2 separate regions of the Homo sapiens genome follow, and region 1 is linked to region 2. Evidence: promoter capture Hi-C in human tissues and cell types (Jung and others, 2019). All regions are on one chromosome and are shown on one strand. Each heading gives the region's core, a stretch centred on a gene start or on the middle of the fragment in contact. The rest is flanking DNA. Distances are from core to core; before and after follow the strand shown. Region 1 overlaps SEPTIN9 (septin 9). Region 2 holds the start of SRP68 (signal recognition particle 68).

Evidence for each region. The method cuts DNA at HindIII sites, captures the fragments that hold promoters and counts their contacts. A contact is called where the count stands out against the background at its distance.
Region 1: a fragment that was not itself captured here is called in contact with the fragment with the promoter of SRP68 in region 2 in 1 of the 25 tissues and cell types used here (spleen).

What each region holds. Positions count from the first base shown.
Region 1 is chr17:77,358,065-77,364,231 of GRCh38, forward strand. The region is part of intron 2 of SEPTIN9 (septin 9); the gene reads left to right. Among named protein-coding and RNA genes, the nearest start is that of MIR4316, 36 kb to the right of the region's middle. RefSeq lists enhancers at 5,594-6,167, 5,783-6,077. The HindIII fragment of the contact is 6,488 bases long and covers 1,129-6,167 here.
Region 2 is chr17:76,068,142-76,074,724 of GRCh38, forward strand. It overlaps SRP68 (signal recognition particle 68), which reads right to left and starts at 4,376. Exons shown (of 16, transcript NM_014230.4): 1 at 4,167-4,376; 2 at 2,237-2,303. The coding sequence starts at 4,350. It also overlaps a transcript of GALR2 not described here. RefSeq lists enhancers at 3,663-4,490, 4,489-4,538, 4,491-5,318. The HindIII fragment of the contact is 13,843 bases long and covers 1,115-6,583 here.

The sequences.
Region 1 (6,167 bases), core at 3,123-5,622, 1.3 Mb after region 2:
CTAGGTATTGTTCTCAATGGACAGCTTAGTCAACGGAAGCTCAGAGAGGTGGTGTAACTTGCCAAAAGTCCCACTACCCAGTGAATGTCCCCACGGGGTCTGCACCCAGGAGTCTGACACAGAGCCCAGGCCTCAGCACCTGGCGATGTTTTGGGGGTGTGAGCAGCCCAGCCTACTCTGGGCACGTGTTTACTTGCTGTTCCTTCTGCCTCATGTTTGTGTTTGTCCCCTCTGAAGCTCAGACTGTTATTTTCCAGTTCCAAATACCAAAACTGGCTAGGCACGGTGGCTCATGCCTGTAATCCCAGCACTTTGGGAGACCAAGGCGGGTGGATCACTTGAAGTCAGGAGTTCAAGACCAGCCTGGCCAACATGGTAAAACCCCATCTCTACAAAAAATACAAAAATTAGCCAGACATGGTGGCGTGCACCTGTAGTCCCAGCTACTCAAGGAGAACCCAGCTACCCAGCTACTGAGGCACGAGAATCACTTAAACCTGGGAGGTGGAGGTTGCAGTGAGCCGAGATCGCACCACTCCTCTCTAGGCTAGGCAACAAGTGTGAGACTCTGTCTCAAAAATAATAAATAAATAAAATAAAATAAAAATTAAAACCAAATGCCAAAACCAACCCACAAAATAAACCTTGGTTAAAGTAGCCTGTTCATTTTGCTTTAACTATGTATATTGCACCAGATTCTGCCAGGGGCTCAGCGTATAAAGATGAGACCCCTGCCCTGCCAGACAGGTGGGATGATGGCCATACCTTGAGTTAGTCAAGGCACCATCTGGCTGTGTAACAAAAGCTAAAACATCAGAGGCTGAGCAGCACTCGGACCCACGTCCCAGTCCAAGTGTCAGTCGTTATGGGGGCCCAGGACAGCCCGGACCTAGTTCATTCCTTTGGTGCATCCTCGACACACAGCTTCCATCTCTTGAGCTGAGATGGTTCCAGCTCCTGCCGTCATGTCTGCACTCCAGCCAGAGGGAAGGGAAGAAGGGAGAGGGGAAAGGGCAAGTGTCCCTCTTTATTTTTAAGGGCATGACCTGAAAGTTAAACACTTCAGCTCCTTCCCACTGGCCAGAACCCAGTTGTATGGCCGCTCCTGTCATCAGGGAGGCTGAGCAATGTATTCTTCAGCTGGGCTTCCCTGTGCACAACCAAAACTTCAGTTACTATAGAAAAAAGGGAGCTCAGATATTGGGGAAACAACTAGCATCTGTACCACATGCACTGATAGCTCTCTTTGTATGAACAGAGCTGTGGCAGGCCCTATGCCAGGGAGAAAGTAAGATTGGAAAAGAGCTTACCAAGGAGGTGGCATTTGCACTGTGCTTAAGGGGCAAGAAAAACGTCTTCCAATCAGGAGCCACAAATGCTTGGCTGAAGTGCTACTGCTCTTTCATCCTGGAGCTGGAACAGACGTCACCAGTCAATCATGATGGCTGCTGGGTGCACTGGCTAACATCTATAATCCCAGCACTTTGTGAGGCTGAGGGTGGGAAGATTGCTTGGGGCCAGGAGTTTGAGACCAGTTTGGGCAAATTGCAAGACCCTGTCTCTGCAAAAAAATATAAAATGTAGCTGAGTGTGGTGGCACCTGTAGACCCAGCCCCAGCTACTCGAGAGGCTGAGATGGGAGGATCGCTTGGGCCTAGGAGTTCGAGGCTGCAGTGAGCTATGATTGCACCACTGCACTCCAGCCTGGGTGACAGAGCAGGACCTGTCTCTAAAAACAATAAAATAAAATCAAAGTTTTAAAATGGAAAAAAAATCATGAGCACATAACTCCAGATGTATCCTCAAGATAGCAAACCCGGGTGGGCGCAGTGGCTCATGCCTGTAATCCTGGCACTTTGGGAGGCCAAGGTGGGTGGATCACCTGAGGTCAGGAGTTTGAGACTAGCCTGGCCAACAGCCCCATCTGTACTACAAATACAAAATTAGCTGGGCATGGTGGTGGGCACCTGTGATCCCAGCTACTTGGAAGGCTGAGGCAGGAGAATTGCTTGAACCCAGGAGGCGGAGGTTGCAGTGAGCCAAGATCACACCATTGCACTCCAGCCTGGAGAAAAAAAGCAAAACTCTGTCTCAAAAAAAAAAAAAAAAAGCAAACCCAGGGCCAGGTCTGTAGCCACATGGCCACCTTCTTCCCTGAGCATGGAGGCAGCCTCAGAAACCTGCCCCACATCACATCAGTGGGCAGTTGATTGGGTCAGCCTGCCAGTTGAACCCTATTTGCCACAGTCATTCTCCATAGTAAGGGGCATTCTAGACATACCCCCCTTCCCAGGGAAGAATAAGCCGTAGCTGCCTGAGCGTTTTATCCAGTGGTGTGCATGTCTTTTCCCAACTCTGTGTTTAGTGATGTCCTGTTTGTAGCTTGAAATTTGCCACAGTGGGTGTGTTTACACCACAGGAATTGGCAAACACTACATATCAGGCCTTACCTCCTGCTCCCTACTAGGGTAGGTTGTTTTTTTTTTGTTGTTTTTGTTTTTTGTTTCTTTTTTTTTTTGAGACGGAGTCTCGCTCTGTCGCCCAGGCTGGCGTGGAGTGATGCGATCTCCGCTCACTGCAAGCTCCGCCTCCCTGGTTCACACCATTCTCCTGCCTGAGCTTCCAGAATAGCTGGGACTACAGGCGCCCGCCACCACACCCGGCTAATTTTTTGTATTTTTAGTAGAGACGGGGTTTCACCGTGTTAGCCAGGATGGTCTCGATCTCCTGACCTCGCAATCTGCCCTCCTCGGCCTCCCAAAATGCTGGCATTATGCCACTGCGCCCGGCCTAGGGTAGGTTGTTAGAAATGTACCAGCCTGCCAGTTTCAGCCTTGTTTGTCTTTCATCCTTTTTTTTTTTTTTTTTTTTTTTGAGACGGGGTCTCTCTCTGTTGCCCCCCAGGCTGGAGTGCAGTGGTGTGATCCTGGCTCACTGCAACCTCTGCCTCCTGGGATCAAGTGATTCTCCTGCCTCAGCCTCCCAAGTAGCTGGGATTACAGGTGCCCACCACCACGTCCAGCTAAATTTTGTATTTTTAGTAGAGATGGGGTTTCACCACATTGGCCAGGCTGGTATCGAACTCCTTACCTAAGGTGATCCACCCGCCTTGGCCTCCCAAAGTGCTGGGATTACAGGCGTGAGCCACCGCACTGGGCCTCTTTCGTTCTTTCTTAATGAAAATCTTCCTGAAAGATTTGCCTACTGATGTCTGTGTCAATAGGTACTGCCTGCGGGACAGAGCCTGCCCTCCTTTTGAAGGTCTTTCTCTGTCTGGGTGACCATCTGCATGTCACTCCCTGCTGCTCAGAACTAAAGATGTAGCTATGCCTGGGGTAGGTTGGGAAAACCTGTGGGAATCACAGAGCTTGCTGTCATGCTGTGTTCTGGATACCTGAAGCTTGGCAGGCAGGTGGGATCGAGGGTGGGCATTAGGAAAGTGATGTGGCTCTATAGGAAGGGGACATAGGTCCTGAGATTTTAGGTCCCCAATTGGACAAAGCTGTTTTTTTTTTCTGGATAAATGTTCTAGCTTATTCATAATCGAGTGGTCAGTTTTCTTTTCTTTTCTTTTCTTTTTTTTTTTGAGATGGAGTCTCGCTCTTTCGCCCAGGCTGGAGTGCAGTGGCGCTATCTCGGCTCACTGCAAGCTCCGCCTCCCAGGTTCACGCCATTCTCCCGCCTCAGCCTCCGGAGTAGCTGGGACTACAGGCGCCTGCCACCGCGTCCGGCTAATTTTTTGTATTTTTAGTAGAGACAGGGTTTCACCGTGTTAGCCAGGATGGTCTCGATCTCTTGACCTCGTGATCCGCCCGCCTCGGCCTCCCAAAGTGCTGGGATTACAGGCGTGAGCCACCGCGCCCGGCCAAGTGGTCAGTTTTCTCAGCTGCCGGGTCTTGCACACCTTGCTGGCTCTGGAGACCATATGCACCATGTAGACCCCATTTGTTTCCTACCCTCAGTGTTGGGGGAGGGGCCAAGGGCCTGTCGATGTGTTGACACCTGGCCATTCACTGGCCTTGAATGTCCACATTCACCTCCTTGAAATCGATGCCCCGTATCGGAGGCTCCATGTGGATTTGGGGGCAGAGGCCTGTACTCCAGATGGTGGGGTGGCCTTCACCAATCAGGCAGATTCCCTGCCCTGCCCTGCCCTTTGGGCTCTGTAGCTCCAGATGTGTGCTCAAGATCTGTGGCCACATGGATGGGACAAGCCACAGAGACTCAGACTCCGTGGTCCCTGTGACCAGAGTAGCCGTGGCCCTGTCTGGGAATGTTCCCACCCTGTTGCTGAAGGTGAGAAATTTCTCTGTGCTGGAGAACAGCTGTGCTGAGAAGTTGGCCCATCTGGCTTGCAGGACTGCTGGGGCAAGGGAGGTCTGCTGCCGGTCTCTTCCTTCCTCCTCTGACTGGGTGCTCCTTGTCTAGGTTCCTTGCAGCAAAAGAATTCTCTAATTTATTTTGTTCCCTTATTGAGTCTCTACTCCATGAAGCCCACCTCCTAATCCCAGCTGACTGGCTCCCACCTCCTCAAGAGGAAGGCCAGGGGCAGACGAGGCTGAAGGAGGCTGACTCCCCTGTGCCTTCGCAGTCTGAGCTGATGCTGCTGTATGTTCACAGGGCTCCTTCAGCTTTTAAAAAGGCTTCAACACGTTCGTCACACGCTTGTGGCTCTCCTGGATGCCACACTAACTCAGTAAGGCCTGAGTTAGAGGCTGTTCCTGAGGCTGTGAAAATAGAAGAAGGGTCCAGAGGAGAATCCCTTCATCTGACGATCCCAGGAAGGCTTCCTAGAAGAAGCAGCCTCTGAGCTGAGACCTGAAGACAGATCAGGCCTGAGTCAGGCCAGGGAGGGTGTGAGGGGCCCACCAGGCAGAGGGAACAGGATAGGGCAGGCACAGAGGTCTGGCACCTGGCTTGTGGGGAAGTGTGAGCCCCTGGGCATGACCAAGGCGGGGAGAAGTGGCGTGAGAGGAGGCAGATGTGGCTGGCAGGAGATCGGCGGCCCCGGCCTTGCTGAGCTCCACTCTGTATGCACCAGGTGACAGAGGCTGCCCAGGACGGTGGGCAGGGAAGTGACAGGTCACATGGTCATCCCACCAACAGCCGGGAGTCCAGCTTGGGGGGACCCAAGACCCTGGGGAAGGCACGAGTCAGGGGCCTGCTAGAGCCAGGAGCTAGTGGGAGAAGGAAACAGTGTTGCTTATGAATTATAAACAGACACTCCCGCAACTTTCTCTGACGTGATACAATCTCAAAGTGGGCCACCCAGAGGTGGGAAGGTGACTTCTGGCTCTCCAGGCCTTGGGCCTGTCTTTTTTTTTTTTTTTTTTTTTTTTTTGAGATGGAGTCTCACTCTGTTGCCCAGGCTGGAGTGCAGTGGTGTAATCTTGGCTCACTACCACCTCTGCCTCCTGCGTTCAAGCAATCCTCCTGCCTCAGCCTCCTGAGTAGCTGGGATTACAGGCACCTGCCACCACACCCGGCTAATTTTTGTATTTTTAGTAGAGATGGTGTTTCACCATGTTGGCCAGGCTGGTCTCGAATTCCTGACCTCAGGTGATCCGCCCACCTTGGCCTCCCAAAGTGCTGGGATTACAGGCATGAGCCACTGTGCCCAGCCGAGCCCATCTTCAAGTTCTCCCTGGCCCTCAGTGTTTCTGTATTAGTTCACCCTTTTGGCTCCCTGCTTTTAAGAGTCTCCCTTAAGACTGTCCCCAAGTGGACAGGTCCCCAGAACCAAGGAGCAGCCTTAGGAGTCCCCAGTTACAGACACTCCAGGGGGTCCGTGTGGCCCTCAGCCTCTGGCCTGGTTCCGGCAGCCTTGGTCCTTTGTGCTGTCTCTCACATAGCCTGGCCAGAGCTGGCCAGGTCCCTTGGCTGGGCCGAGTCATCGTGGCCAGTGACTCATGCAGGGGGAGAAAAGTGAGGAGGGGGAACAGAGTGCGAGGGGGACTGTGTTAATAACAAACCCATTAGGTCCCTGAGGTCACTTCACAGGAGGGACAAATGGTTCATTTAGGTTGATCTGGCTGCCGGCTGGCTTCCAGAGACACTCAGGGTGGGGAAGATTTCATTATCTGGGGAAAGCAATACCAGATTGTCTGGAGGGGCCCAGCCAGCGCACCCCGCGCTTCCTGTCTGCCTCCCACGCAGAGCGTTCTGTT
Region 2 (6,583 bases), core at 3,126-5,625:
TTAGCCAGTTGTGGTGGCACATGCCTGTAATCCCAGCCTACTCGGGAGGATGAGGCAGGACATTCGCTTAAACTCAGGAGGTGGGGGTTGCGTTGAGCCAAGATTGCGCCATTGCACTTCAGCCTGGGCAACAACAGTAAAACTCCGTCTCGAAAAAAAAAAAAATTAGCCAGGCATGGCGGGCGGGCGCCTATAATTCTAGCTACTCGGGAGGCTGAGGCAGAGAACTGCTTAAACCCGGGAGGTGGAGGTTGCAGTGAGCCGAGAACACGCCATTGCACTCCAGCCTAGGCAACAGAGCAAGACTGTGTCTGAAAAAAAAAAAAAAAAAGAAGAAGAAGAAGAATGAGGAGGATTCTAATAAATGTAAAGAAAGCAGGGAAAGGGGCATCCTGAGGAAGACTAAGATGACACCAAACATATGGAGAAAGAACTGCAGGCAGGTCTGAAGAAAAGTGAGGAAGCCAATTAGGTTATCGCCAAGAAGCACTACAAATGTCACCTCTATGCCAAGCCTCCTCCTCTATGCTCATGTAGCTCTTTATTCTTCCTTCTATTACAGTGTGTGACATTATAATTATGTTCTCACATAGTTGTCCACTAATATAAATCCCTTTAGTGCAGGGAGAATTATTTTTTTGAGACAGAGTCTCACTATGTTGCTGTTGCCCAGGCTGGGCTCGAACTCCGGGGCTTAAGCAATTCTCGGGCCTCATCCTCCCAAGTAACTGGCACTATGGCATGTGCCACCATTCCAGCTAGGATTTCATTTTTAAATTTTCCACAATGCCTTACCACAGTGTCTAATATGCAGATGTTCAATACATACATTTTGACTAAATTAGTTTAAAATATATATATAAATAAATAAATATATATATATATAAAATTGCACCAACCTTTAAGTCAAAGTAATACAGCACATAATTTACAATACAAAATGATATTTCAATACTACTTCAGGGGCCGGGCGTGGTGGTTCACGCCTGTAATCCTAGCACTTTGGGAGGCTGAGGCAGGCAGATCACTTGAGGTCAGGAGTTCGAGACCAGCCTGGGCAACATGGTGAAACCCCATCTCTACTAAAAATACAAAAATTAGCCAGGCATGGTGGTGCATGCCTGTAGTCCCAGGTACTCGGGAGGCTGAGGCAGGAGAACTGCTTGAACCCGGAAGGCGGAGGTTGCAGTACACCGAGATCGTGCCACTGCATTCCAGACTGGGTGACAGACAAAGACTCTGTCTCAAAAAAATAAGTAAATAAATAAAATGAAATAAAAATAAATAAATAGGCCAGGCACATTGGCTCACACCCGTAATCCCAGTACTTTGGGAGGCTGAGGCAGGTGGATCACCTGAGGTCAGGAGTTCAAGACCAGCCTGGCCAACATGGTGAAATCTTGTCTCTACTAAAAATTAGCCGGGCATGGTGGCATGTGCCTTCAGTCCCAGCCACTCAGGAGGCTGAGGCAGAAGAATCACTTGAACCCGGGAGGCGGAGGTTGCAGTGAGCCGAGATCGCGCCACTATACTCCAGCCTGGGCAACAGAGTGAGACTCCGTATCAAAAATAAATAAAATAAATACTACTTCAGCATCTCAATCAAAGCTACCAGGGTATAGATTATTTAAAAGAAAAAAAAAAAAAGAAATAGGCCAGACACGGTGGCTCACGCCTGTAATTCCAACACTTTGGGAAGCTGAGGTGGGTGGATCACCTGAGGTCAGGAGTTTGAGACCAGCCTGGCCAACATGGCGAAACCCCATCTCTACTAAAAATACAAAAATTAGCCAGGCATGGTGGCACATGCCTATAATCCCAGGTACTCTGGAGGCAGAAGCAGGAGAATCACCTGAACCCGGGAGGCATGGGCTGCAGTGAGCCAGGATTGCGCCACTACACTCCAGCCTGGGTGACAGAGTGAGACTCCATCTCAAAAAACAAACAAACAAACAAACAAAAAAAACAGCTACTCAGGAGGCTGAGGCAGGAGAATCGCTGGAACCCAGGAGGTGGAGGTTGCAGTGAGCCAACATTGCGCCACTGCACTCCAGCCTGGCGACAGAGCGAGACTCCATCTCAAAAAAAAAAAAAAAAACAAAGCAAACAAACAAACAAAAAAAACAATGCTCTAGACTTTCTAGCATATTTGCTGATATAGCAGAGTAAACAGGATATTAACAAAAGCAAAGCAAGTCCCACAATGATTTCCAAACATCTTGTATGTGATACTAACCTGTACCTCTGAAAATCTCCATGCCGTAAACCATGCTGCTGCTGGGATTCCTTAATAATCTGAAGAACTAGAGTCGAGATTAAGGAAAATCTTACCATAGCAAGAATCCAAACAAATCAAAACCTGTACCATCAGTCTATATCTGTGTCAAACCACAACACATTAAACATTTGTGAAATATAGCCAGGTACGGTGGCTCATGCCTGTAATCCCAGCACTGTGGGAGGCCGAGGCGGGTGTATCACCTGAGGTCAGGAGTTCAAGACCAGCCTGGCCAGCATGGTGAAACCCCGTCTCTACTAAAAACACAAAAAATTAGCCGGGCGCAATGGCTAGCACCTGTAATCCCAGCTACTCGGGAGGCTGAGGCAGGAGAATCGCTTGAACTTGGAAGGCAGAGGTTGCAATGAGCCAAGACAGCGCCACTGCACTCCAGCCTAGGTGAGAGTGAGATTCAGTCACACATGCACATGCACACACACACACACACACACACACACACAAATTTGTGAAATATTTAGTACACTGGTGAGATCTTTTGTAACCATTTTCAATATCTATCTTGTCACAGGACAGGGCTAACCTACAGGAAAACTGATTGCCTGAACTGTTACTACTTGCAAACTGAAAAAGGAGGGCACTACTGGCCACTGGAAACTGCCAAAACCCAGTTTAAATTAAGCTGATGGATTCTAAATGCTGACTATAATTGGGGTGCTTCACACCAATTAACACCTAGACCCCACATTTTATTCATTCAGATTCAGGTTATAAATGACATGTACTAAGCCTCCATTTGCATAATCTCCAACACCTGCCAAATCTAACTTTCCTTAACAGCTGTGATGCTTAGAGAGTCTATGATTAGCACATGTCAACCAAGCTAGGCTACAGTTTGCATAAAAGTATTAAGGTTTTTCTTTCAAAAGAAGAATGGCCAGATTCTCCTTTTAATAATCTTAAAATATTTAAGATTATGTACTAATCTTTAGAAAGTCCAATGACCTTCATCTATATAGGTATAGTTTTAATGTTTCCTCAACACTTCTCTAGAGACATATTTTAAAATAGTGAACGCTAAAAGGACTCTTTAAATTACTAAAACGGGACAAAGAGATATAAAGGTCTCAGTAAAATCAGGGCTCGCTAGCGTCTACTTGGAACTATTACCAGTAATTCAAAATATTTAACTCCAAGCGCCTGAGAACTTTAAGCACATTAAGATGTCAAGTTGAATGTGTTATTTCAGAAACTCGCCTACGTTTTCTCCATTTGTTATTCATTTCAAAAGGTCACAAACTAGTACCACAAGCACTTGGTTGAGATACACACTGATGGAAACTAGAAACCGATTCCTCCAGCTTATATGAATGACTGTCAGCAAGATAAAATGCCTACAGACCGATCAGAAAAAAATGACACAATCGATATTAACTACGGTAACTTACAATCAAAATGGGCAACAAGCTTTTCCTGAGTCAATCTTTACCTCCACTTTCAAAGTATCGAGCTGTAGGTTTTACTACTCAGTCTATGACGACTGTCAGACAAGAGTATTAAGCCAAATGTCAAGACTGCAGTTTCCTCTCCCCAGTTCAGTGGCTCAAGGTGCCAAAGCAAGGTGCTCAAGGTGTCACTTGGTCACAAGCCCTCCAACTGGACAACTGCGGGGCACCAGGGGAAACCTGCCTGATATCCCAGTGCCACTGGAAGAAACGGACCTAGCCAGGACGGCGAGGGGGACACGAGGAAAGACTAGTCGAGAGACAGACCCCCCCCGGAATTCTGAGCACCAAAAGGTAAGGGCGAGAGAAACTGCAACCCTCGGCCTCTCCTGCCAGGACTTGTCGGGACCCGCCGCCTCTCCCGCCCCCAGCCCTCCAGTTCGACACGTAATCATTGCGAGTTAGGCCCGATTACTCTAGGATACTCTCCAAACTCAGGCTATCCCCAAATTCTTTGTTTGCCTTCGATCCGGCCGAAGGGCGTTCGTTTTCTTTATTTTCTTCCCCTCCGGCACCACGTCCACCGCCGCTACCGCCGCCGCCACTGCCACCGCCGCCGCCACTGCCGCCGCCGCCGCCGCCGCCTGGGACCTGCTTCTCAGCAGCCATCTTGCCCCTGCGCCGCAGAGCAAGACGGGATAGGGGAGGCGGGACGACCTGGGCGGGTGAGAGCTGGACCTGCCTGGCCGGGCTGATGGGATAGCGGCGGACTCCGCCGCCGTCGGCCCTTGCTGCAGCAGGGCGCCATGTGCTGGAGCGCGCCTGCGCGAGGGATCCTGTCATCCCGGGTCCGGAATTGTGGCTGGCTAGGTGGGGACTTGAGGCCGCAGTGAGACCGTGGCTGCTGAGATCTCAGGGGGCAGTCCCACCTCCCACCCACTAAGGGCGGAGAACCGGAGGTGGACCCCAGGTCCTGCATCCTGGACTGGGGATCTGGTTCACGTCCTGCCCAGCAGAAAGCAGGAGACCAAAGATACTGGATTTCGGGGTGTCTGCATCCCCAGGGACTCAAGAGATGGGGTCCTCCCTACCGGAACGGGACACCCCGTCCGTAAGGGACCCGCCTCTGCCTGCCCTTTCCTCTGAGGCTGGCCGTAAGAACGCCAAGCCGGAGGAAGCGCTGCGCAGTCAGCAGACGGTGTCCTAACGGGGTGACTTTCTCAGACCGCTTGGGGCCGTGGACCACTGCACTTTGGGGCCGTCAGTCCAAAGAGGGAGAAGTGTTGAGACATGGGAAAATATGAATTTTTGCTTTGCACCTTCTAGAGTCTGAGACCTGGGATTCCAATCCCCGCTCCGTCATTAGCGGCAGGGACATGTTGGGCACGTAACTTAATCTCCCTGTAAATCTGTTCCTTCATCTATGAAATGGGGATAACCAATTTAAGTGGTTGTTAGGAAGATTAAATGACGGATTTTTTTTTTTTTTTTAGATAGAGTTTCGCTCTTGTTGCCCAGGCTGGAGTGCAATGGTGTGATCTCGGCTCACTGCAACCTCTGCCTCCTGGGTTCAAGCCATTCTCCTGCCTCAGCCTCCCGAGTAGCTGGGATTACAGGCGCCTGCCACCACGTCCCGCTAATTTTTGTATTTTTAGTGGAGACGGGGTTTCACCATGTTGGTCAGGATGGTCTCGATCTCCTGACCTCGTGATCCGCCCGCCTCGGCCTCCCAAAGTGCTGGGATTACAGGCGTGAACCACCGCGCCCGGCCCTGAACTCTATTTTGAATTTCCTCAAGGTATACGGAATAAGGTCAGGAGAAAAAGAATAAGGATCTGATGCATTCAGATTTAACTAACTCTCCCATACATCTCATTCCTTTCTCAGCAGATCCCTCTTAGAAGGAAGTGTTACCATTTCCTTGTTACAGCTGAGGAAACTGAGGCATGGAGCCAAAGACAGAGCCTGACACAATAGATGCTCAGTATATTGGATTGAATTGGAGGGAAAACGTTCAATGGGTAAGAGAAGGGAAAAAGGTGGCCGGGCTCGGTGGCTTACGCCTGTAATCCCAGCACTTTGGGAGGCCGAGGTGGGCGGATCACTTGAGGTCAGGAGTTTGAGACCAGCTTGGCCAACATGGTGAAACCCCATTTCTACTAAAAATACGAAAATAAGCCAGGCGTGGTGGCAGGCGCCCGTCATCCCAGCTACTCGGGAGGCTGAGGCAGGAGGATCGCTTGAACCCGGGAGGCGGAGGTTGCAGTGAGCCGATATCATGCCACTACACTCCAGCCTGGGCGACAGAGTGAGACTCTGTCTCAACAAATACAAATACAAAAAACTAGCCAGACGTTGTGGCGGACGCCTGTAGTCCCAGCCCCTCAGAAGGCCGAGGCAGGAGAACCGTTTGAACCCGGGAGACGGAGGTTGCAGTGAGCCGAGATCGCGCCACTGCACTCTAGCCTGGGCGAAAGAGCCAGACTCCGGGGCCCCTCATCCGCCTCCGCCCCGCGTTTCCTCCCCCCGATCTCCCAGGGGTCCTCTTTTGAGGGCACCCCAGCCCCTCGACGGTCCCGGGATATCCTGCACCCCTGCCAGGCTGCAGGGAAGCGCCGAGGCGCGCGGAGTGCGAGGTCCGTGCTCCCTGCGGCGCGGCGCACACGCAGGGTCCGGGGTCGACCCCTCCACCGCTCCGGCGTCTGCCGGGGAAGTCAGTCCGCCTGGTCAGCCCAGAACCCCCGACTGCGGGGGCTGGAGCTCGGAAGCAGGTACAAGCGCCACTCTCCGCCTGCGCCGTGGAATGCGCGCCGGGACCACTCCGCAGCCCTTCCCCCAGCGCCGCCGGCCGCTGCTGGGGACAACCTCGCCCTCCTGTCTCTTGCTCCTCCTCCTGACCCCA